Regions from separate parts of the Homo sapiens genome. Here all the other regions are linked to region 1. The links are contacts of gene promoters, found by promoter capture Hi-C in blood cells and fetal thymus (Javierre and others, 2016). All regions are on one chromosome and are shown on one strand. The core of a region is centred on a gene start or on the middle of the fragment in contact, and the rest is flanking DNA. Distances in the headings are between cores, read along the strand shown.

Region 1 (3,350 bases), core at 589-3,088:
TCATAGGTTGAAATCTTAACTGCTAAGGTGATGGTATAGGGAGGTAGGGCCTTTGGGAGGTGAACAGGTCATGAGGGCTGGCCTCTCATGAATGGGATTAGTACCCTTGTAAAAGAGACCCCAGAGAGCTAGCCAGCCCCTTCTGCCATGTGAGAACAAAGAAGGCACCATCTATGAATCAGAAAGCAGGTCCTCACCGGACACCAAATCTGCTGGCATCTTGATCCTGGACTTCTCAGCCTCCAGGACAGTCAGAAATAAATTTCTGTTGTTTATGAGCTACCCAGTTGAGGGCATTTGTGTTAGCAGCCTAAATGGACTAAGATCTTTTTATCCTACTCATTCTTAGATCTTGTCGCTTTTGGTGGGTGTACTTATTCCACCTTTATAACAACACCTCTGCTGTGTGCTGTTAAGAATCTTCATTAAGGTAGCACCTTGAACCTACTTTATTTGGAAGCCTACACTAATTTTTGGCTTTCGATTCCCATTGCCCTCTTCAGGATTGTATTACAATTTGACAAGCAAACATCCTCTTCCACCTTCCAAAACAACTTTAGTACACACATTATAGAAAGGGAAATATGTTTGGTGCTTTTTTTTTTGAGACAGTCTCACTCTGTCACCCAGGCTGGAGTGCAATGGCGTGGTCTCGGCTCACTGCAACCTCCGCCTCCCGGGTTCAAGCAATTCTTCTGCCTCATCCTCCCGAGTAGCTGGGACTACAGGAGCGTGCCACCACACCCGGCTAATTTTTGTATTTTTAGTAGAGACGGTGTTTCACTATGTTGGCCAGGCTGGTCTCGAACTCCTTACCTTGTGATCCGCCTGCCTCCGCCTCCCAAAGTGTTGGGATTACAGGCGTGAGCCACCGCGCCCAGCCTGGTGCTGCTGTCTTATTTCTCATGAATATGAGCTTTCAAGGACAGGGACTTGATCTTTTTTTCCATTCCATAAAATGTTGATATGGCTAAACTTTGCAGGCTTTTAGGCGTTGTCATATATGCAATTAATTCCATGGGCACTTAATTTCATTCCCCTCACTGAAGGAAGGGGTTGTCTGAGACCACCAAGCTCTAATGTCTTACCAATCTGTTGCTTTCTCATTTTGTTCAACTTTTTTCTTGGAAAGAAAAACATTGAACATATCAAGATGAATCAGCCAAATATTGTACTGTGTGTGTGTTTTGGGGGTGGGGGGAGACAGAGTTGAAGTGGCAGAGGCAATGTAGGAGGAAAAGACAGGCTGACTAAAATACATAAATAGTACGTGAATTCTTTCGGGCCAGGGATCTGGGCCTACTTTGCCTGCATCATATTACCAGCATCTCAATTGTGTCTGGCACATAGTAAGTTTCAGTAAACATTTGTTGCACTAAGTGAAAGAATGAACTTTTCACTTTTTTCAGAGATGTGATTTGTGATTCTCGGAATCAACCAGGGTCCTAAGATGTCCTGGAGGCCGTCTCCATTTCTCTCGGTGAGCTAAGGTGTCCGAGTGGCACCAGTTCTCCACTCTTTCTGCGACCTGCAGGGAGTGGGATACGCTGTGGCTTTAGGGAGCTGGGAAAGGCGCTCTCTCCCGGTCCCGCTCTGCCCGGTCCCACGCCCCTCGGCCGTCCGGCTGCCTGGGTCTTCCGGGTTCTTCCGCCCCTCTGGCTCGGTCCCCGCTACCTCTCCTCCCTCCTCCCCTCTCGGTACCTTCGCCCGCCGCGCGCCTTTCTCAAATCCTCCGGTTATTAAGCAAGCTCAGGGGTCCGGTGGCCTGCCCTGGTAACTCTGCGCCCGCCCCTTCCTGCCCCCTTCCTGCCCTCACGCCCCGTCCCCTCCTCTTGACGTGGCAGAGGCGGCGCCAGCCATGTTGGCCGGGCGGAGGTCTTCGCTGAGGCCCGGGGCGGGGTGGCGCCACCCCTGATTGCGGTGCCACGGACTGCTCCTGCTGGGCGGAGAGGACAGATTTTGCAAAGCGGAGGCTGCGACGGGTCCTGCAGGGGGACAGTGAGGAAAGGGCCGCCTCGTCTCCGCTCCTGGGGGACCGCAGGTGCGCAGCGGGGAGCGGGGGCGGGCTGGCGGCGGCGGGCTGGGGGCTGGGATCCTGGGGTGGTCCCGGCTCTGCCCTCTCGGTGCCCCGGGGCCAGCGAGGTGTGCTGGAGGCTGAGGCCCGGTCCGGCGCGGGGAGCGTTGAGTGCTGAGCTTGCCACCCTCTCACCCACTTCGCTCTGCCGGGGCCGGGGGCCCGGCCTCCTCCAGCTCCCCTGGATTAGGTGGAAAGATGTGGAAAACGGTGGTTCGAGCATCTCGCCCAGCACCCACCCCCACCTCCTGGGCCACCCACCTCCACCCAAGTCCATCATCGCCTCTGGGCCCTTGGACTTACTGTTTCATTCCTTGCCAGATATGGAGTGTCCTAGACTTTGAACCCAATTGACTACGTCACCGTAATTCAGCCTTGGAAGTTAAAGGGGTTAAAGGGGAAAAGAGCTTGGTAAAGATAATGCCTTGGGTTTTGATTACAAAGAGTTCAGTTTTCCAGCAGGACCAGCCCTATCTCACTGGGCTTTCTTTCTACGGTAGGTAGTGTTTCCCGATTTGGTGGTAAAGGTACTGCCTGAGGAAGGTCATAGTAAATCTACATCAATCACTGAAGTGGGGATGTGGAATTCTCGTTTTCACTTGAACTCCCTCAACCTCTACCGTCCAAAGCCATGGATAACTAGCCAAATTAACTTGGTTTAAAAAGGTTTTAGATTTAAATATAAATGCATGTTGAGTTTTCCTTCTCTTTCTCCTCTGGTAGTGAATGAACATCATTTCAGAAGTCCAGCTATTTTTTTTTTTTCTGAGACGGAGTCTTGCTTTGTCGCCCAGGCTGGAGTGCAGTGGCGCAATCTCGGCTCACTGCAACCTCCGCCTCCCTGGTTCAAGCGATTCTCCTGCTTCAGCCTCCCGAGTAGCTGGGATTACAGGGGCGAGCTACTATGCCCGGCTAATTTTTGTATCTTTAGTAGAGACGGGGTTTCACCATGTTGGCCAGGCTGGTCTCGAACTCCTGACCTCAGGTGATCCGCCCGCCTCGGCCTCCCAAAGTGCTGGGATCACAGGCATGAGCCACTGCGCCCGGCCAGAGTCCAGCTATTTTTAATTGACTTACAGAATTTTAGAGTTAGATGGGACCTTGTGATTTTCTAGTCCAAGTCTCTTATTTTGCTGATGAGAAAAACAGGATTCAGAGAGGTTAATTGTCCAAGATCATAAGAAGACAATTCATTGAGGATTTTGGAAGTGAAAAGTAGGAGACAAATTTAATTGGCAACTAACAAATACATGTAATTGGAAGGAACTCAAATTTA
Region 2 (3,350 bases), core at 430-2,929, 6.0 Mb before region 1:
CCACCACACCTGGCTAATTTTTGTATGTTTAGTATAGACAGGGTTTCACCATGTTGCCTACATGGGTCTCAAACTCCGGACCTCAGGTGACCCGCCTACCTTGGCCTCCCAAAGTGCTGCGATTACAGGCATAAGCCACCATACCTGGCCACTGACGAACTTTAGAATAAGACTGGTTACCTTTGCAGGATCGGTTATGTCTTCAATTCCCGATGGTAGATCATCACCAGGAGGACCATCATCACCACTATGACCATTTACAGAAGCTAATTCCCTTCGCAACTGAATAAACTGTTCACCAGTTAAAAGATCTCTAGGCAAATTATTCTGTACATGTTCTTTAAATCTAAAGGAAGACAATAAAAATATATGTATTTGAATCATAATTTTAGATCTCATATTGAGATTCCTACTATATACTACTCTTTCAAAGGATTTGATTTAAAAAAGAAACCAAAATATCATACCTTTTCTCCTTCTTTTCTATAGTAAAATCCTACCATATATGATAAAACACTACCATATGATAAAACAGTCTATAGACATCTTCAATTTCTTCCTACCTTTACAGTGGAATGGAGAAGGCATGGACGGGCATAAATTCAAACCTCAGTTCTGTCTGTTACTGGTTATCTGACTAGGGAAGGTTTTCTTTTCTCTAAATCTTAGTTTCCTCAATTGTAAAATAAGATGATAATACCTATTCGTGTGTCATAGAATCTATTTTACTACAAAGACATAAAAGTTACAGTAAAATTAAATACTGTAATCCATATTTAAATTCTAAATGATCACTTGTAAATAACCAACAAATATAGCATTTCCTTCCCACCTCCCAAATACTCCTCATCCACATGTGAGTACGCAAAAATCCAATGAAACTGCCCAATTAAGATTATCAATTACCTCATATATAAAATTAAATGGACACTTGTTTTGTAGTATGGTCCTCCAAGCCTCTGACTGCTGCTCTATGTCTTATTCCCCTTCTTACCTGCCCTAAATGCTACTATACCCAAGTATTCCACTCTCCATTTGGTTCTCATCTATTTTTATTAATACATACTTCTGGCCAATCTCATTCATACAGCTTGAAATAAGTATACCATGATGACTCTCAAAACTACAACACAAGTCCAAACCTTTCTCCTAATCACATTAGCATATACAACTGCCAATACTCTGCACAAAGAAATGTGGATTAGTTTTAAGCTAATCTATAAAAAGATTTTTGAAAAAAATATCATTTCACTATTTTATAAAAACATGCAATAATTTGTATACATACAAATTGTAATCAAAAATACCAGGTTGAGGAGCTAAAATATCTACACTATCACAATTTGAATATACCTTTGGAACCTCAAATATGAAATATTTTAAAATAAGTATGGCATCTTCATCTGAAAATGAATACCCTCAGTATTTCTTTCTTTATTTTCTTGTGTGAGATGGAGTCCTGCTCTGTTGCCCAGGCTAGAGTGCAATCGTTCTATCTTGGCTCACTGCAAGCTCCACCTCCCGGGTTCAAGCAATTCTCCTGCCTCAGCCTCCCAAGTAGCTGGGATTACAGGTGCGCACCACCACGCCCAGCTAATTTTTCTAATTTTAGTAGAGACGGGGTTTCACCTTGTTGGCAGCCTGGTCTCGAACTCCTGACCTCAGGTGATCCACCCGCCTCAGCCTCCCAAAGTGCTGGGATTACAGGTGTGAGCCACCGTGCCCCGCCACCCTCAGCATTTCTAATATTGATTAATGGTACTGTCAACCACTACATCTCTCAATCTCTTCCACCTAGCTTTTCATTTACATTAGATACCAGGTCCTACTGACTGTACCTTTTAAATACATGTTCATCACCTCGGGACTTTTAAGCTGGATAAACATAAAATGACCTTGCAGCCTCTAGTCTCACAACTCCCATTCCCACCTCTATACTACTATCAGAAATGTTACTAAAAAGTAAGCAAACAGGTCAGGCGCCTGCTGACGCCTGTAATCCCAGCACTTTGGGAGGCTGAGGTGGGCGGATCACCTGAGGTCAGGAGTTTGAGACCAGCCTGGCAAACACGCTGAAACCCATCTGTACCAAAAATACAAAAATTAGCTCCGTGTCGGGGCGGGCACCTGTAATCCCAGCTACTCGGGAGGCTGAGGCAGGAGAATCACTTGAACCTGGGAGGTGGAGGCTGCAGTGAGCCAAGACTGCACCACTGCAATCCAGCCTGGGCAACAGAGCGAGATTTCACCTCAAAAAAAAAAAAAAAAAAAGTATATAAATAACATTGGAATCTAATTTAAATTTTGCAAAGTCAATGGATACAGAGGCTAACGGCCCATTTCAGCACCAGGTGGAAAAAAATTAACAAAGATTGCCTTATGTTAAAAAATTAAAAATAAGGAAGTAACTCTCAAATATGTAGTATGAAAAAACAGATTTAATTACAGATGAATATTAAAACTCAGAATGGTCAACAAATGAATTAAAAACTTAAGGTAAAATTTCAAAATAACTACATACAGTACATAAATCTAAAATGACTTATTGCTACATCATGTAACAACTTCTTTAAAACAGTGACAAAATGTGCATAATATTAAGCAGTATTTTTTCAGCAGTTTTTTGTATTATAAAGCTAACATTTATTCAGTAAAGACTGGCTGACTGCCTAATATATATTGAGCTCTATTCCTAAATATTAGAGATACAAAGAATTAAGCCTCAGAAACTGACAGGCATGTTGAGGATATAAGAGACATAAATTCAAAGCAGTGTTACTGGTGCTAATATAAATGTAAATAAATGTAGGTAAAGTCATGGCACAAATAACAGACTAGGTATCTCAGTATAGGAGAACCAGAGAAAATTTCACAGAGAAGACACAAAACTGTGTGGTCTCAGGGAATATAAGTCCACTAGACAAGTGGAAAGAGGAAAAGGTATTACAGTCATAAAGATATAAAACAACACTGCCCTTTGGGAAGTTATCAGACTTAGGTGTGTCTAGAGCTCAGGAACCACCAGGGATTGGACCTGGATGTTAGACCAGATCACAAAGTCCTCATGCTAAAGAAGGATTTAAATTAGACATTATCTCAGAGATAATGTGCAGGGTACATCCAATGGTACAAGCCTAATGCACAAGCACAATAAAAATATTTCCATTATTACTGTATACCACTTAGAATATCTTTTTTAACACACGCCTCCTCCTCTATCCTTCTGACCAACTCACAGGCAACGCTATTTACACATGGCTTCTTTGGGCCTTCATTCCTACAACTTAAATAGCCTATCAACAGGTACACAGCAAATGCTAAATAAATGACTTTAAGAAAGAGGCATGTGT
Region 3 (3,350 bases), core at 535-3,034, 6.0 Mb before region 1:
TATACCATTGACTATTCTTTTTCATAAACACAGCAATATATAAAAATCTGAAGTCATCACTAAAGACTGAAAGGAGTTTTGGGTAGAGCAAAACAAGTAGCTTTGCAATAAGCAAATCTCATCCACAAGGCAATCTGGAGATTTGGGATGTAAGAAGAAAAGAGACTATCATAACCACTGGTTTTGGCAGCTGTTTTTAAGGGCTAAGTAGTCACACGCCGACTTTTTAAAGTCTCTACATATTAAACACTGTGTTCCAGAAACTAGATTTTGTATATGTATTTACATAAACGTCTACATCAATCTTCGGCTTTTTGGAAAACGTACCATTTGGCTGGAACTACACTACCTTCTTCCTCCTTCGGCTATTTTTAATTTTTTTTGAAGTCCTATCTTCCATGTAGATTTGTTAAAACATACCACAGAAAACAGCACATACAATTTTTATCATTTGACTTTTAAACATCTTCTTTCTTATTCAATTATAAGCAAGGAAAAATATTCTGAGACTTTACACAAATAGTGTCTCATACCACCTATGAGCCATCTATGCTCAACCCCTACTTCAAAGTTCACAATCTAAGTACTAGTCCTCTTTAACAGAACTCCTTTCCATCACTTTATCCCTACTAGAGAGTGAACAGTGGAAAGTTCCAACTTTTGCAACTCTAGAATGAGGTTATAAATCTAGAGGGAGGAGGAAAACCTGACAGTAGACGCTTGTTCTTTTCACTCCATTCAAGCTCCCATACAGCCTAAAACACTTAAGTTTCAACATGAGCTTCATACGTCCCTGTCCAAAACTTGCTTTCTCAAGCCTCACGCTTTCCAGCTGTAGCAAAGTTTATTTCTGAACAGATTAAATCAGTTGCTAAATAATCTGAAGTCCTCAAACAGAAGGCCATATGAGTATCAAACGAAAAAAACAACATTTGAATCAGCATAAATTCACATGGTATTATGGCATCATTACTAATACACTGAGCAGTATTATTTATTAACTTCAAGTATTAATTAACTTAAAGATGTGATTTTGGAGAAAAACACCAGTGGTGGTCTCTGATTACCAAAGTTAAACATTCTTAAGCACAATCCCTTAAAAAATCCTGCCAGGATCAATGATGTGTTTTTTCTGTTTTAAAGTATCCTGCCAAAAGCTGTGGGTGCTGTGACTTAGGGTCGCAAAAGTGTTGCTTATGTAGTCAGAAGACAGAACGTGCCCTACAAGGCGCTCACATGCCTTAGTAATAGAACGTATATTATCTTCCCAATCCTCTGGCGGCTGCAAATGTGCTCCTTCCACTTCCAGCCACCCCAGCCGTGTTCCAGCTCCGGGAGAAGCAAGGGCTTTAGAATTACCCCCAAATATCTTCCTAAATCCAGGCGAAGGAGGCCCACACTTCTCCACCCTACCTAACGCACCCCTCAAGTGAAACGTTTGGTCTAAGAAAAAAATACCTTGCACCGCTCCACCCAACAGGTGGGAAGGAGAAAGGAATGGACAGCTGAGCGCTGAATCCGAGCCAGGCCTCAAACAGGGCGGGAGAGGGAGGCCGCGGCCAGAGCGCGGCCTGAAACCCGGCAGGCCCCTTTCAGTACCAAGTACCACCCTCTGCCCCAGCTAATTTCAAGGAGCCCGCCCCAGCAGACCTTATGATGGATGCCACTTGATGCCATGAGCCGGAGCCTGTGACGACCTAGCCGAAGATGGCACTTCACCGCCTCCGTCCCCACAGCCAGCACAGCAGCCGCCACCCGCGCCACGGCCGCCTGGTCCAGGGCACGATGCGCATGCGTCAGTGTCCCTGGAGGCGAAAAAGTCACGTGGGTTCGCAGCGCGCAGGCCTGGCCCTCCCAGGGATCCTCGCTGCCCGTGCGGCCCCAGCCCCGCCCCCGCAGCCCCGCCCCGCCCCGCCGCGAGCGAGGGCGGGGACCGCTGCGCCTACCTGCCTTTCCCTCCATAGGGACTTCCCAAAGGAAAGGAGGGCGTTTAGGGGCTTTCACACGCCTGATCTTAAACACAGCGCCCTGACCCCTCCCCACCAAAAACGGCAAAATGTCATTTTTGGGGGCAAATCTAAGGTTTTCCCTACAATTGTTCAAGCTTTCACACTAAAACATTTACCTAAAAACGGGCAGAAATTCAGCCTTAAACCCACAAATCTCACGATGGTATAGACCCTGGGCCCACTCAGGTTTCCTGAAAACTAAACAGTTCTGGAGTTAGGGGTTTGGAGAACGGGCTATTGTTAAAGAAAAAAGTATTTAGTGACACTTGTTAAAGCACAAAAAGAGGGCTTTATTCAGGACCATCGCAACAGGTATAGGGACCACTGACTGCAATGGAGACTTGCAGTAGGGAAAGAGATATTGGGCTCAACTCCTCATACAGCATGGGCAAGTGGAGATTTATAGCCAAGGAGCGGTGGTAAGTGAATGTATAATTACTAAGAGGAAACATCAGGGTAAGGGGGATTTTGGCTAAACCCACCTAATAGGATTTTTGCTGAAGACAGGCCAAGATAATGAGGCATCACCTGGGGGATGGTGGAGACTGAAGAACCTGATCAGATATTGAGGATGATCAGCTATCAAGGATGGGGGTTTATTGCTAATCTGACTTAGCAAAGTTCTTTGCTTAAACTGGATTTTACAAAGAAAGTGTACAGAAGAGCCTAGCAGAAGATTCAGAAACCTGACTAAAGTTGGCCAAGCAAAAAAAAAAATCTTTGTATCTGAAGGGATATGTTATCCTCTGGACAAATTGAGGGGGACTGTGCGTTAACAATCTTAGCAGTCCTCTTCAGTTGTACCACCATCTCCACTTTAATAAAAAAAAATTTTCTTTCAAATCTGGCCTCTCTCCCTTTAAGATTCTGTTACATTGGTGCCCCCGCATTCACCTGTCACTTACCATGTAATCTGTTGTTCCAGGTGCATTAGTATTACTACTGGGCTCCAAGTTCCTCATCTGAAATCTGTCTCCTCTGGAAATACTTATTTACAAGACGACGTTTCTTGTCACAACGCAGGTTAATCATAAATCCTCTCACCAGCACCTTTCGTTCGAAATACCAAATTCAGTCTTTTTTCCTACCTTTTACTTGCATCACACTGCACCTAGTAGTAGCTTTCCCTTTCCATTTGCCTCTTCTACTTTCCAAGCTAACTTTTTTGGATTCTCTGACAGTGTGGCCATGTTTTTTGTTTGTTTGTTTCACAGGTTTAAACAGCAGCTTTTAAATGTTTACTGTGGGAAGAATAGTCAAGGGAGTGGTGCGTTGGGAAGACAGACCAGAGTTTGCTGCTGGCACTGTTACGCAGGGACTGTTTGGCATGACCTTCACTCC
Region 4 (3,350 bases), core at 288-2,787, 6.0 Mb before region 1:
ACAAAAAGAGAAGGCCTCAAAAATCACCCCAAAAGACATCCTAATAAAGGCTGAAAAATGTGGCTCAGTAGGCAGATGACTGACTGACTGACTGTAAATATGATAAACATCTTGTTTTCTGGAAGATGGAGGTTAGCTTAGCTAACTCTAAGAACTTAGAAAAGTTTCTGTTTTTATCTCTTTTCACACTAGAAGTAGACTTGTAAGTTTTACTGTGGAGATTTAACCTAGTTTCAGTTTAGGTTTATTATGAAAATTTTAGATGCAATTTCAGAGTTAAATTTGTATTATTATCTCTTAACCTGAAAACTTTTAACAATAATTCCTTGCTCTTCAGAATCCTTAACTTTCATAAACTCAAGATATAATAAAGTGAATGCTAAACAATCCTTTAGTCATGTCAGGTGAGTGAAGAGCTACTCTATGAGCTGAGACTATTCACTAATAATTTCTAATACTTATTTATTATTTTTCATGTTAAGAATAATCTTCCCAAGAGATTTATTTTTACTCAATAGATATCAGAAAATATAACTTTCTGGCTCCCATGACATGGTAATATGGTTCTTTTCTTCAGAAAACTGAGACAATACCATGAGAAGTAAAGAGTACTTATGGTATGTTTGCCAAGTATAATGCACATTACACAAATTTAAAATGAAATTTAATTAATAAATTATTAATAGAATTAACTGAACTAAATTCTGATCAAGCAAAAATAATCTATGCTCTGACATGATGAATATTTATTAATATTTCCCTTTCTTTTGCTTATTGTCTTCCTAAAGATAGGTACACAGGAGTCAGTATATAGAGATTTCTAACCCACATATGGAAAGTTTTATTATCTGTTCTAAAGCAATATCAAGTCTCTTATCTGTCTTTGCTTTTTAAAAATATGTATTGATTAATTCAACATATATTTACTAGATGCCAGGTTCTGAGAGCTCTGAGAATATAGCAGTTTCAAGGAGCTTACCATCTTGTGGCAGGATTCAGACTAATAAATAGCTATCCTCTTACTTTGTTTCAGTGACTTTGAGTTGTTCTAGTATGCTTTTAACCTAGAAAAACCTAGAAAATCCATTCTTTTCACTAAGCTTATTTTCACACTTGAGAATTATATATCTATATATGATATGTATATAAGTAATTTATTAGTTACATTCCATTTTAAATTTGTGTAATTTGTATATAGATATAGAGAGAAGGTATATAAAACACTAAGATTTAGGGCAATGTTTTAAACTGATAAACTTCATTTGACATAGATTTCAAATGAAAATAAATTTTTATTTTCTTTTTTGTAGAGACAGGGTCTTGCTATGTTGCCCAGGTTGGGCTTGAACTTTGAACTCCTAGCCTCAAGAGATCCTTCTACCTTGGCTTCCCAAAGTGCTTGGATTACAGGCGTGAGCCACCATACCCACATTAAAATTAATTCTGACAAGTCCTTACCTTCACAATGTTTCCAACAACAAGGTCTTGATTATTTTCTGTATCTGATAAAAGCTGCTTAATCCCATTAATACGATCACGAAAGTCTTTTGCATTTAATAAGCCAGTTATGAGTTTAAGGTACTCAGCACTTTCTAAGGAATTACGAGGGACTGATTTTCTGGTGACTTCACGAACTTCAGTTACAGCTCTAAAGTGAAAGAAAGGTGAAGGTAATTTCATTTGTACTTTCCTATAAAAACTATTATACAAACATAATTTAAAAATCTCATTATGCATTCATTTTCCAAAATGCATAAAATGCAAAAAACTGTGGCTAACCCATAGCCACAGTATCTCTCCTGGGGGTCCCCAGGATCTCCCCTGGATTTGGATATTTGCTAGGAAGACTCGTAAGAGTTAGCCTATACTTTTACTCATGGCTAAAATTTATTACAGCAGAAGGATACCAAACAAAATCAGCTGAGGGAACAGGTGCACAAGTCAAAGACCAGAGGAAACCAGATCTAAGCTTTTAAGAGTCCTTTCCCAGTAGAGTCGCACAGAACACAATTCCTTCAGCAATGAGTTATGACAACATATGTGAAATGTTGTCTACTAAGTAAGCTTATTAGAGGCCTCATGTCTAGAGTTTTCACTGGGAGCTGGTAATGTAGGGACTGTCTGCCTAGGACATACCAAAATTCCAGACTCCCAGAAGGAAACCAGGCCTCCAGCATAAACCATATTGTTTGCCCAAACAATTTAGGCGCAGTAAACTATCTTATCAGTTAGGGCATAGTGGGAATCCTCTTGAAATCCTAGTTTCCCATGTCAGCGAAGAGCTAACCTTGCAAGCAGCCTTTTTTAGGGATAGCAGTCTCAGGACTGCAATGTTAACTTTTTTCTGAACAGCTTCCTTGCCCGTTGAGATCTAGATAAATTACCTTGAACCTCTTTCAAAAAACTCATCCTCCAGAGAAGATTAAGTGAACCACTCTTATGAGGAATAGTTGAAATCTTTCCAAAACCTAAGTTCCCAGATGTCAACCAATGGGCAATCTCTCTAAGCAGGCCTTTCTAAGAATAGCAGTCTTGGGCCCTGTTATGTTAACTCTTTCCTGCAAAGTATCCGTGAGAACACTCATGGGACAATGAGAAACTAGAGACCAGCAGGAATTATTATGGCAATGACAGTATTCATAGCATAATATTTTTCGTGGCTATAAAGGGGTAACTCAATGTGGTAGATCCAGCTTGTCCATCCCATGGTCTGCAGGTCGCATGCAGCCCAGGACAGCTTTAAATGCAGCCTAACACAAATTCATAAATTTTCTTAAAACATTATGAGATTTTTGTGTATATGTGAATGTTTTTTCTTTTGTTTTTTTGTTTTTAGCTCATCAGCCATCATTAGTGTTGGTGTATTTTATGTGTGGCCAAGACAATTCTTCTGCAGTGTGGCAAGGGAAGCAAAAGATTGGACACCCCTGTTTAGATGATCATCCTTTTGAAACTAAAGAGTCATGCAAAGTGACAGGTAGGTTGGTTGGTCAATCTGTCTATCTATTTTAGATGCAGAGTCTCACTCTATCTTTCTATCTATTTTATTTTTTTAATTTTTAATTTATTTTTGAGAAAGAGTCTCACTTTGTCACCCAGGCTGCAGTGCAGTGGCATGATCTTGGCTCACTGCAAGTAAGCTCAATGTAAGTATATTGTAAGGTTCTTACATTATACTTAAAGTGGTCTAATACTATTTGAAAGTATACTGTGAGACAGTAAAGATGCACATTATAATATTATAAAGTCTAGATCAACCACTTTAAAAAAGGAACAAAAAGATACAGCTAATGAAGGAAATACATGAAATACCAAAATGCACACAAACGCACTCACACCCCCTACCTCTC
Region 5 (3,350 bases), core at 399-2,898, 5.9 Mb before region 1:
TAGCATGGTATTCAAGAGTCTCCAATCTAGCCCCTGCCTCACTCTTGTAATCATATTTCCCACTACTACTTTTGGCAGGGTGGGGACCGAGTCTCACTCTGTTGCCATGGCTGGAGTGCAGTGGCACCATCTGGGTTCACTCCAACCTCTGCCTCCTGGGTTCAAGTGATTTTCTTGCCTCAGCCTCCTGGGTAGCTGGGATTACAGGTGCATGCCACCATGCCCAACTAATTTTTGTATTTTTACTAGAGACAAGGTTTCACTATGTTGGCCAGGCTGGTCTCAAACTCCTGACCTCAAGTGATCTGCTCCGCTTCCCTCACCCACACTGACCTCTCAAAGTGGTGCAATTACAAGTGTAAGCCACCCGCCCGGCCTGCCACTATTACATTTAAAAAATCATCCTTCCAAACAAACTGGTCTATTTATCTCCAAAATGAGCTACAGGAGTATGTAATTGAAATATTCATGATTTTTTTTCTGGAAATTTTGTATTTAATGTCACTAACCAATCCTACATGTGGACAAGATAGAAATAACAGATTAACAGTGGACTGTAAATGTTAAAGCAGAGAGCCTGGCCAAGAGCCAGTACAAATCAGGCCAGGAGCCAGACCTGTAACTGAGTATGGAGGACACATGAATATGTGACATACATAAAAGGAAGTACTGAGACCTGCTATGTGGAGTCTTAAGACTACAGAGGAGGCCAGCTTCAGCTACTAAATAAGGTTATCCATAGTCTAGATTTTTTTTTCAATATTATAACACTAATATACTTTGCTCTGAGGCTCAGTGGTTCATTAGGAGCTGAGGATTCCAAAGGAATCACATACTAAGCACACTCTTGTATCATGCCTTATGCCATCTCTTCAAGCCATCTCCCTTGCCAGGAATGCATTTTACCTTCCTGACCATTTGAAGCCTTAGCTCCTGTCAAGAAGCAGGTCACATTCACCTTTTTCAGGAACTCTCTGCTAATTTCCCAAGGTGCTCAAATGAAAAAATCTGTACAGAGAAAAGAGGTTAGTTATAGATCATTTGATAGTGAAATGGTTAAGGCACCAACTCTGGAGTCATTTTGCCTACATTCAAATCAGCTCTGCCACTCACTAGCTAAGAGACCTTAAGGAAGTTATTTAACCTTTGTGTATAGAATAATGCCTGGCATAGAGTAAGTGCTATTTAAGAGTTAGCTGCTGCAATAGTCTGAATAAGTGTCCCCTTAAAAATCATGTTGAAATCTAATCCCCAACGTGATGGTAGTAAGAGGTAGGGCCTTTGGGAGGTGATTAGGTCATGAGGGCTCCACCCTCAAGTATGGGATTAGTGCCCTTATAAAACAGGCCTGTGGGAGCTTGTTTGTCCCTTCCACCCCATAAGGACACAGCAAGAAGGTGCTGTCTATGAAGCAGAGAGCCTTAACTGGACGCTGAATTTGCCAATGCCTTGATCTTGGATTTCCCAGTCCCCAGAACTGGGAGCAATAAATGTCTATTGTTTATAAATTACCCAGTCTAAGACATTTTGTTACAGCAGCAGGAAGAAGAATAGCTGCCTTTGAAAACAGTATTATTATTATTATTATTAATGGTGACTTATAGGTAAGCAAATTAGGGATACAAAATTTATGTCAAGTCCACAATCACAAAGCTAAACTGGTACTAGAATCCAGTATTTTGACTCCTAATTGTTATATCAAAATTCATCTTACTCTAACCTTTTTTTTTTATCTGTTATTTCTATTTTGTCCACATGTAGGATTGGTTAGTGACATTAAAAAAAAAAAGAGAGAGAGATGGGATCTTGCAATGTTGACTAGTCTGGCCTTGAACTCCTGAGCTCAAATGATCCTCCTGTCTCAGCCTCCTGAGGAGCTGAGACTACAGGCCTATAGGTATATGCCACCATGCCTGGCTCTTGATCTTCTTCTTCTTTTTTTTTTCTCTTTTTTTTAATTTTTGAGACAAGGTCTCACTTTGTCTCCCAGGCTAGTGTGCAGTGACACTATGATCTCAGCTTATTACAGCCTCGACCTCCCAGGCTCAAGTGATCCTCCACCTGAGTCTCCCAAGTAGCTGGGACTATAGACATGTGCCACCATGCCTGGCTAATTTTTGTATTTTTTTAGAGTCCTACCATATTGTCCAGGCTGCTCTCAAACTCCTGGGCTCAAGCAATCCTTCTGCCTTGGCCTCCCAAAGTGTTGGGATTACAGGCATGTGCCACTGCTCCTGGTTTTGATCTTCTTTTAGTAACTACTGCTTCTATCAGTAATTTGATGTTTAAATCTCTAATTTGCTATATTATCTTTTAATCTTCACATTTTTGTCTAAGTAAATTAGAAACATTTAGGCACAAAAATCTCATTTTTATATATATGTCATACATGTATGGTTAGTATTCACTGAAAAAGACTAAATGATAATATCAGCTAAACATTTTTTTTTCTTTTTCCAAACAGCCAACTGTCCTTTGTAATCTGCTCCACCTTTTTTGGAGGGCACAGTGGAATTTGGGAGGAGAGGAGAAAACTAACTATACCTCGTATTTTGCTCCAATGAGGTAACTTAACTCTTCATGATTCTCAAACTACTTTTATCAGTGCCCTCTTTTCCAGAAAGCATATGCCCATACACATATCTTTAAAAACTTATAACGATTTTGTGAATGTTGCCATTACAGTTTTCAAGCACACAAATCACCAATTATCCTCAAAATCTCATGTTAGCAATTATAAAAACGGAAACCATTTTTATTTCCCTTAAATCAGCTCACGTGGTGCTGCCCAGTTCTTTTCAAAAAGAAGGCTAGGCCAGGCACAGTGGCTCATGCCTGTAATCCCAGCACTTTCAGAGGCAGTGGAGGGAGGATTGCTTGAGCTCAGGAGTTCGAGACCAGCCTGGCCAACATGGTGAAACCCTGTCTCTACTAAAAAATACAAAAAAAATTAGCTGGGCATGGTGGCACACGCCTGTAGTCCCAGCTACTTGGGAGGCTGAGGCAGGAGAATCGCTTGACCCTGGGAGGTGGAAGTTGCAGTGAGCTGCAAGTGCAGCTCATACGACTGCACTCCAGCCTGGGTGACAGAGTGAGACTCTGTTTCAAAAAAAGAAGTCTAAAGCATGTCATACATTTAACACCTTTAAGGCCAACATATTTAAAATTTCTCTGTGTGGGGTCTCATAGGAAGAGCTATGAATTTTTCTATTTAAAAAGTCAGTCTTGGCCGGGTGCTGTGGCTCACGCCTGTAATCCCAGCACTTTGGGTGGCCAAGGCGGGCAGATCATGAGGTCAGGAGATCAAGACCATCCCAGCTAACACGGTGAAACCCCGTCTTTACTAAAAA
Region 6 (3,350 bases), core at 418-2,917, 5.9 Mb before region 1:
AAAAATAAAAATAAAAAATATTAGCCAGGCATGGTAGCATGCGCCTGTAGTTCTAGCTACTTGGGAGGCTGAGGAGGGAGAATCCCTTGAGCCCAGGAATTCAAGGTTACAGTGAGCTATAATTGCACCATTGCACACCAATTTCAGCATATATCTGTAAAAGAAAAAAGCTCTTAAAAACACAACCACAATACCACTATTTAGCAACAAAAAATAGCAGTGATTAATTAATATATTAATAATCCAGTCAGTGTGTAAATTTCCAACTGTTTTCTAAATATGTGGGTGCACACACAAGTCTATGGTTCACAGGTTGTATTTGATTGATACGTCTTTTAAATTTATAGATTCATTCTCTTTATTTCTTGCAGTTTATTTGTTGAAGAATTTAGTTTATTTTACAAGATTTTTCACAGTCGGTATGTTTTTGCTAATTGCATCTTTCTGGTATTGTTTAACATGATTTTTCTATTTTCTATATTTTATGTAAATTAATAGTTGGAACTAGAGAATTGGCTGTAGTTTAATTTGCTTGACTTTGGTGTGTGTTGGGGTTGGGACGTGAGAATACTCATGGGTGTTATGTTTTTCCATCAGAAGGCCCAATTATCTAGCTATCTCTCTTTTTGTGATATAAACAGCCCTTCACAATCAATGCCCATTATTTATTAAGGATGCAAAATGATAATATTCCATTATTCCTTCTTTATTTATTAACAGGGATACTTTTAAAAAGAGAAATTTGGCCAGGTGTAGTGGCTCATGTCTGTAACCCCAGTACTTTGGGAGGCCAAGGTGGGAGGATCGCTTAAGACCAGGAGATTGAGACTAGTTTCGGCAAGGTAGCAAGACCCTATCTCTTAAAAAACAAAAACAAAAAAACTCATCTATTTGGAAACCCAGTAGTACAGTTAGTGTAGGAAAGGCATAATAAATGTTTGATTATTTCTCTTTGTTTACTAGGTTTCAAAAAATGAGTTGCTACATTAGCATCGTCCGGTGTTGACCATTAGGACTTTTTTTAAGTATCATTATTAACTCATGCATTTAAAATATCTGATATCGTTTAATCAATTGCAGTTATTATTATTGATGATCAGTTTGTCCTGTCTTTGACTAGTGAAAGCCTATTTAGTTTGGCCCCTGAATATTTTTTATATGACTCTTGTAGTATTTGATAGCTTTCTTGCTACCTAGGATGTATTTATTTATTTATTTTGAGGCAGGGCCTCACTCTGTCTCCCAGGCTGGAGTGCAGTTGTGCAATCACTGCACACTGCAGCCTCGACCTCCTGGGCACAAGCAATTCTCCTAGCTCAGCCCCCCAAGTAGCTGAGACTACAGGCATGTGCCACCACATCCAGCTAATTTTTTTATTTGTTTTTTTTCTTTGTAGAGACGGAATTTCACCGTGTTGCCCAGGCTGGTCTCAAACTCCTGGGCTCAAGCTATCCTCCCACCTTAGCCTCCCAAAGTGCTGGGATTATACTACCTAGGATTTAGATTCCAAATGTGTCTTGACATCTTCTGCCCCAGACATGGTATCAGCTATCTGCCCAAGGAGTTCTGTTCTCTTTGAGGGAAATGGTATTTAGAGAGTACATCTGAATGCTAGAAGTGTTCTTTGCTACCGGGATGGTCAGTTTCTAGACCTTTTCAGTAGACAGAGCTAGGAAATATAATTTATTTTTTTCCTTAAAATAATATTACGTATATTTAATATGTATGTATAGCTCACATGTATTTTATGTATTATATATAAATTATGTATTAGTATATATGAATATTTACTGTTATTTATATACATATATTTATTCTCATACTTTTTATTCAAATACAGACTGTGAGGTTCATAATTAACATCTTAGTGTTATGTCGTTACCTTCTTTTTCCCATACCAAGAATCCTAGATCACAGTGACCCTAGGGTTGATAGAATATCATATCATTACTCATTTGCTTTATAGCACAATACACACATTAACAGTGTCACAATACAAATAAACAGTGTCCTTATCAACAATGCGATTACTGAAAACAGCATAAGATATATATTTTAGGGCATGTCGCAATAGAGACTTCAGATTACTGTTTTAAAGTTATTTGGAATGGTATGGTAAGGCCACTAAGTTGATATTTTCTTCCTTTGTATTTTCAATTTTCAAATTTCTTATGGATCATGTTTTTAAGATTTAATTGTGCTTTATAATTACATAAAATACTTTTCTGATTCCACAGTCAAATCTATAAAACAGAGTATATTCAAAAATATCTACCTTCTATCTCTATCCTCTAGTTTTTAGTTCCATACCTCCTCTTGTAGGTAACCTTTAAAAGTATATATTGTGTAAAATTTCCTTTTTTTAATAGAAATGATTATGTATGTTTGTAATCTTCCCTATCGTAGATAAATGGTGACACACTAAACACACTTTGCTTAGATCAGGGAGATCACTGCAGAGTATTCTATACAGAGATTCCTCATTCCTTTTCATCGCTGTATAGTACTGCATTGTGTGGATGCTCTATAGTTTTCACAACCATTCTTTTGTTGCTGGACATGAGAGTTGTTTTAAAAATCTTGGTCAGTTGCCTTTTGGTCTCTCAAATATGAGGAATAAGAAACATGAGTATATTATTTTGTTTTTATAAATAGATCTGCAATTATTATTAGCCTTATGGATTTGTCTTTATACATTTTTGCCAGTGTAATTTTTGGATAGATTCTTAGAAGTAGGGTTTTTGGGTCAAAGGAAAAATCCAAATGTAATTTTGCTGTATTTTGACAGATTTACCTCCAGAGGTTTTGTATCATTTTCTATTCCCACAGCAATGAGTGAGATTTCCTGTTTCTCACATCCTCACCAACAGACTATACTGTCAAGAGAGAATTGTTAACTCCATGTATTAATTTATTTGATTTTAAGTGAAGTTGAGCAATTTTTGTATGGTTAAAATCATTTATGTTTTTAACAAACATCTGTTCATTTCTTTAACCAATTTTTCCTATAGGGCTAGAAAATTTTAGAAATATTTTATGTATTACTGATATATATTTTATATATGCTACAAATATTTTTCTCAGTCTCATTTATATTTTTACTTACGATTTCTTTATTCCAAGTTTTTAAAATGTAATCAGTTTTACCTATTTTTTCACTGATGTCTTCTGGATTTTGTTTCAAAGTTAGGAAACTGTTCCCTAATCTCAGGTTGTCTTAGTTTGTTTTCCATTACTTATAACACAATATCTGAAACTGGATAATTTATAAGTAAAAGGAATTTATTTCTTACAGTTATGGAGGCTGAGAAGTCCAAGGTCAAGGGGGCCACACCTGGTGTGAGCTTTCT
Region 7 (3,350 bases), core at 328-2,827, 5.8 Mb before region 1:
AGTCTTATAAAGTATATTCTTGTGTGTGCCCTGAGAAGAGTTAAGAATTTAAATAGGCAAGGGTCCTAGAATTTTATATAGAGTAGGTGGTTCCCACTGAATAGAGGAGTATGTCTGGGAAAAGTTTTATAGCCAGATTTTAAAAGACCAATATCATATATGTCTATATATACGTATATGTGTATGTCTATATATAGATATATGTGTATATCTATATATGTCTAAGACATATAGAAATATATATCAAAGTCATATATACACACACTATATGTGTATATATACATATGTACACACACTATATACGTATATACGCACATATATGGTGTATATACGTATATACACACACACAGTGCGTGTGTGCGTGTACACACACACAGTGCGTGTGTGCGTGTACACACACACAGTGCGTGTGTGTGTGTACACAGTGTATATATGTGTGTGTACATAGTGTATATATGTGTGTGTACACAGTGTATATATGTGTGTACACACAGTGTATATGTGTGTACACACACAGTGTATATATGTGAGTGTACACACAGTGTATATATGTACACACACAGTGTATATATGTGAGTGTACACACACATAGTGTATATATGTACACACACAGTGTATATATGTGAGTGTACACACACAGTGTATATATGTATGTGTACACACACATAGTGTATATATGTGTGTATACACACACATATATAGTGTATATATGTGTGTATATACACACACATATATAGTGTATTTATGTGTGTGTATATACACACACATATATAGTGCATATATGTGTGTGTATATACACACACATATATAGTGCGTATATGTGTGTGTATATACACACATATATAGTGCGTATATGTGTGTGTATACACACATATATAGTGCGTATATGTGTGTGTATACACACATATATAGTGCGTATATGTGTGTGTATACACATATATAGTGTGTATATGTGTGTGTATATACACACATATATAGTGTGTATATGTGTGTATACACACATATATAGTGTGTATATGTGTGTATACACACACATATATAGTGTGTATATGTGTGAATACACACATATATAGTGTGTATATGTGTGTGTATACACACATATATAGTGTGTATATGTGTGTGTATACACACATATATAGTGTGTATATGTGTGTGTGTATACACACATATATAGTGTGTATGTGTGTGTGTGTACACACATATATAGTGTGTATGTGTGTGTGTGTACACACATATATAGTGTGTATATGTGTGTGTGTGTACACACATATATAGTGTGTATATGTGTGTGTGTGTACACACATATATAGTGTGTATATGTGTGTGTGTGTACACACATATATAGTGTGTATATGTGTGTGTGTGTACACACATATATAGTGTGTATATGTGTGTGTGTGTACACACATATATAGTGTGTATATGTGTGTGTGTACACACATATATAGTGTGTATGTGTGTGTGTGTGTACACACATATATAGTGTGTATGTGTGTGTGTGTGTACACACATATATAGTGTGTGTGTGTGTGTGTACACACATATATAGTGTGTATATGTGTGTGTATATACACACATATATAGTGTGTATATGTGTGTGTATATACACACATATATAGTGTGTATATGTGTATGTATACATGGTGGTATCTTAGTTCATTTGGACTGCTGTAACAAAATACCATAAACTGAGTAGCTTATAAGCAACAGAAATTATTTCCCACAGTTCTGGAGGCTGGGAAGTCCAAGATAAAGGCAGATTTGGTTTCTGGTAAGAACACTTTTTTTCTGGTTCATAGGCGTAATCTTGCTATGCCTTCACATGGTAGTAGGAGTGTGGCATCTCTCTTGGGTCTTTTTTCTAAGGGCACTAATCCCATCCAGGAGGGCTCCACTGTCATGACCTAATTGCCTTGCCCCACCTCCTAATGCCATCATTTTGGGGATGAGAGTTTCAACATATGAATTGTGGGCAGACATAAACACTGAAGACTATGGTAGGGGGATAAACAATTTTGGATAGTATCTGGTGGTTAAATGGTTAAAGATTTTGAACAGGAACAATATGGGATATTTTACCATTTGATGTCTAGGAAACTTTATTCACTTTCTCTTCAAATTTTTGCTTTGCTTTGTTCTTGCATTTTAAACTAATTCATGTATTTAACTTTTTAAAACTATTTTTACATTGTAATTTGTTCTGTGATCTTCATTTCCACAGAAATACCAGCAATGGTTTTCAGCCAACAAACTTGAAATATTTGCATAGAATTTAATTTTCTGCAACAACACTACACACTAATTTGCTGTAATTTCTTAATAAAATATTGAAAGAGGAATCCATAATGGTAATGTTACTGGGTGGGAAGTTCTTAACTGTGAATTGTCCAGGTTCTTGGCGTGTTGAACAAAGAATTGAACAAAATACACAAAGTAACAAAAGAAAGAAACAACAAAAGACAAAGCAACAAAAGAATAGAGTAATGAAAACACAGATTCATTGTAGTGAAAGTACATTCCACAGACTGGGAATGGGCTTCAAGAGGCAGCTCAAGAGTCCCGCTACTGAAATGCTCCCCAAGGTTTTTATAAAGCCAAAAGAACATGGGCAACACCCCTACATAACATTTGGAGGCCTCCAGTTGGTTACACCCTATGAAGGATTGGCCTACGACCAACCAGAGGCTGAAGTGGAGGCTTGCCCTGCAGTCAATCACAGATTGAAGCGGAAACTTCTGTCTTGTTATCACAGGAGCCAAGATGTAGCCTGTATGCTGCCTAATCTTGCCTAGAACTATCTGCGCCTGCTGTTCTTTTGCTTATGCATTAACCCTTGGTTACCCTAATTCCCTATTCTCCTGCCTCAGCAGCTAGCACTTTCATAGTGCTTACTATGTGTCAGGCAGTAAGTGCTATATATAGTAATTCATTTAATCCTCACTACAACCTTATGAGATATATTCTAGTATTATCTCCACTTTACAGTGAGGAAACAAATAGGTTAAGTCACATGCCCAAAGCTACACAGCCCATGACTGAGCCTGGATTTGAATCCAGGCAATCTAACTTCAAAATCCGGATTTAACTGCCATATTCTTGCCTTTCCTCGACAGCCTGAAAACACAATCAATCAAGAACTAATGATAAAAGAGATAATTCATTGATCATATAGCATGATTCACTTAGTCTGCAAATCCAGTCTTTTTCCTGGGTGAAAAAGGACAATCCTAAATTAGGTCTTCTGGCATTTTATAAGCTTGCTGAGGATAAAATTCCTAAGCCTTCTCAAAAAGAGAGCTGAAGGAAGAGGGGGAAATTTCAGAAGCCATGAGGGTTGGGAGGAAATAGGT

What was found. The method cuts DNA at HindIII sites, captures the fragments that hold promoters and counts their contacts. A CHiCAGO score of 5 or more calls a contact.
Region 2: a contact is called between a fragment that was not itself captured here and the fragment with the promoter of SEC23A in region 1, in 4 of 17 cell types (naive CD8 T cells, non-activated CD4 T cells, total CD4 T cells and 1 more). The highest score is 11.8, in naive CD8 T cells.
Region 3: the fragment with the promoter of PRPF39 here is called in contact with the fragment with the promoter of SEC23A in region 1 in 11 of 17 cell types (non-activated CD4 T cells, total CD4 T cells, naive CD8 T cells and 8 more); the score reaches 29.1 in non-activated CD4 T cells.
Region 4: a fragment that was not itself captured here is called in contact with the fragment with the promoter of SEC23A in region 1 in 3 of 17 cell types (activated CD4 T cells, total B cells and naive CD4 T cells); the score reaches 7.9 in activated CD4 T cells.
Region 5: a fragment that was not itself captured here is called in contact with the fragment with the promoter of SEC23A in region 1 in 1 of 17 cell types (total CD4 T cells); the score reaches 7.0 in total CD4 T cells.
Region 6: a contact is called between a fragment that was not itself captured here and the fragment with the promoter of SEC23A in region 1, in 5 of 17 cell types (total B cells, total CD4 T cells, naive CD8 T cells and 2 more). The highest score is 16.2, in total B cells.
Region 7: a fragment that was not itself captured here is called in contact with the fragment with the promoter of SEC23A in region 1 in 3 of 17 cell types (naive CD8 T cells, M0 macrophages and non-activated CD4 T cells); the score reaches 11.5 in naive CD8 T cells.

The regions. Positions count from the first base shown.
Region 1 is chr14:39,101,723-39,105,072 of GRCh38, reverse strand. It overlaps SEC23A (SEC23 homolog A, COPII component), which reads left to right and starts at 1,838. Exons shown (of 20, transcript NM_006364.4): 1 at 1,838-2,041. It overlaps SEC23A-AS1 (SEC23A antisense RNA 1), which reads right to left and starts at 1,933. Exons shown (of 2, transcript NR_146545.1): 1 at 1,702-1,933; 2 at 1,261-1,528. RefSeq lists silencers at 1,623-1,852, 2,013-2,132, 2,153-2,232. The HindIII fragment of the contact is 19,881 bases long and covers 1-3,350 here.
Region 2 is chr14:45,104,447-45,107,796 of GRCh38, reverse strand. PRPF39 (pre-mRNA processing factor 39) reads right to left here. Exons shown (of 14, transcript NM_017922.4): 6 at 181-346. Among named protein-coding and RNA genes, the nearest start is that of SNORD127, 4.8 kb to the left of the region's middle. The HindIII fragment of the contact is 6,663 bases long and covers 1-3,350 here.
Region 3 is chr14:45,082,550-45,085,899 of GRCh38, reverse strand. It overlaps PRPF39 (pre-mRNA processing factor 39), which reads right to left and starts at 1,784. Exons shown (of 14, transcript NM_017922.4): 1 at 1,651-1,784. PRPF39-DT (PRPF39 divergent transcript) reads left to right here and starts at 1,874. Exons shown (of 2, transcript NR_184211.1): 1 at 1,874-2,428; 2 at 2,513-2,852. RefSeq lists a silencer at 1,790-2,079. The HindIII fragment of the contact is 5,294 bases long and covers 1-2,106 here.
Region 4 is chr14:45,064,876-45,068,225 of GRCh38, reverse strand. It overlaps TOGARAM1 (TOG array regulator of axonemal microtubules 1), which reads right to left. Exons shown (of 20, transcript NM_001308120.2): 17 at 1,459-1,648. Among named protein-coding and RNA genes, the nearest start is that of PRPF39-DT, 17 kb to the left of the region's middle. The HindIII fragment of the contact is 869 bases long and covers 1,103-1,971 here.
Region 5 is chr14:44,977,413-44,980,762 of GRCh38, reverse strand. The region is part of intron 1 of TOGARAM1 (TOG array regulator of axonemal microtubules 1); the gene reads right to left. Among named protein-coding and RNA genes, the nearest start is that of TOGARAM1, 17 kb to the right of the region's middle. The HindIII fragment of the contact is 5,411 bases long and covers 1-3,350 here.
Region 6 is chr14:44,953,655-44,957,004 of GRCh38, reverse strand. All of the region lies in intron 1 of KLHL28 (kelch like family member 28), which reads left to right. Among named protein-coding and RNA genes, the nearest start is that of KLHL28, 6.6 kb to the left of the region's middle. The HindIII fragment of the contact is 4,594 bases long and covers 1-3,350 here.
Region 7 is chr14:44,914,423-44,917,772 of GRCh38, reverse strand. No RefSeq gene overlaps it. Among named protein-coding and RNA genes, the nearest start is that of DORIP1, 19 kb to the right of the region's middle. The HindIII fragment of the contact is 3,362 bases long and covers 1-3,258 here.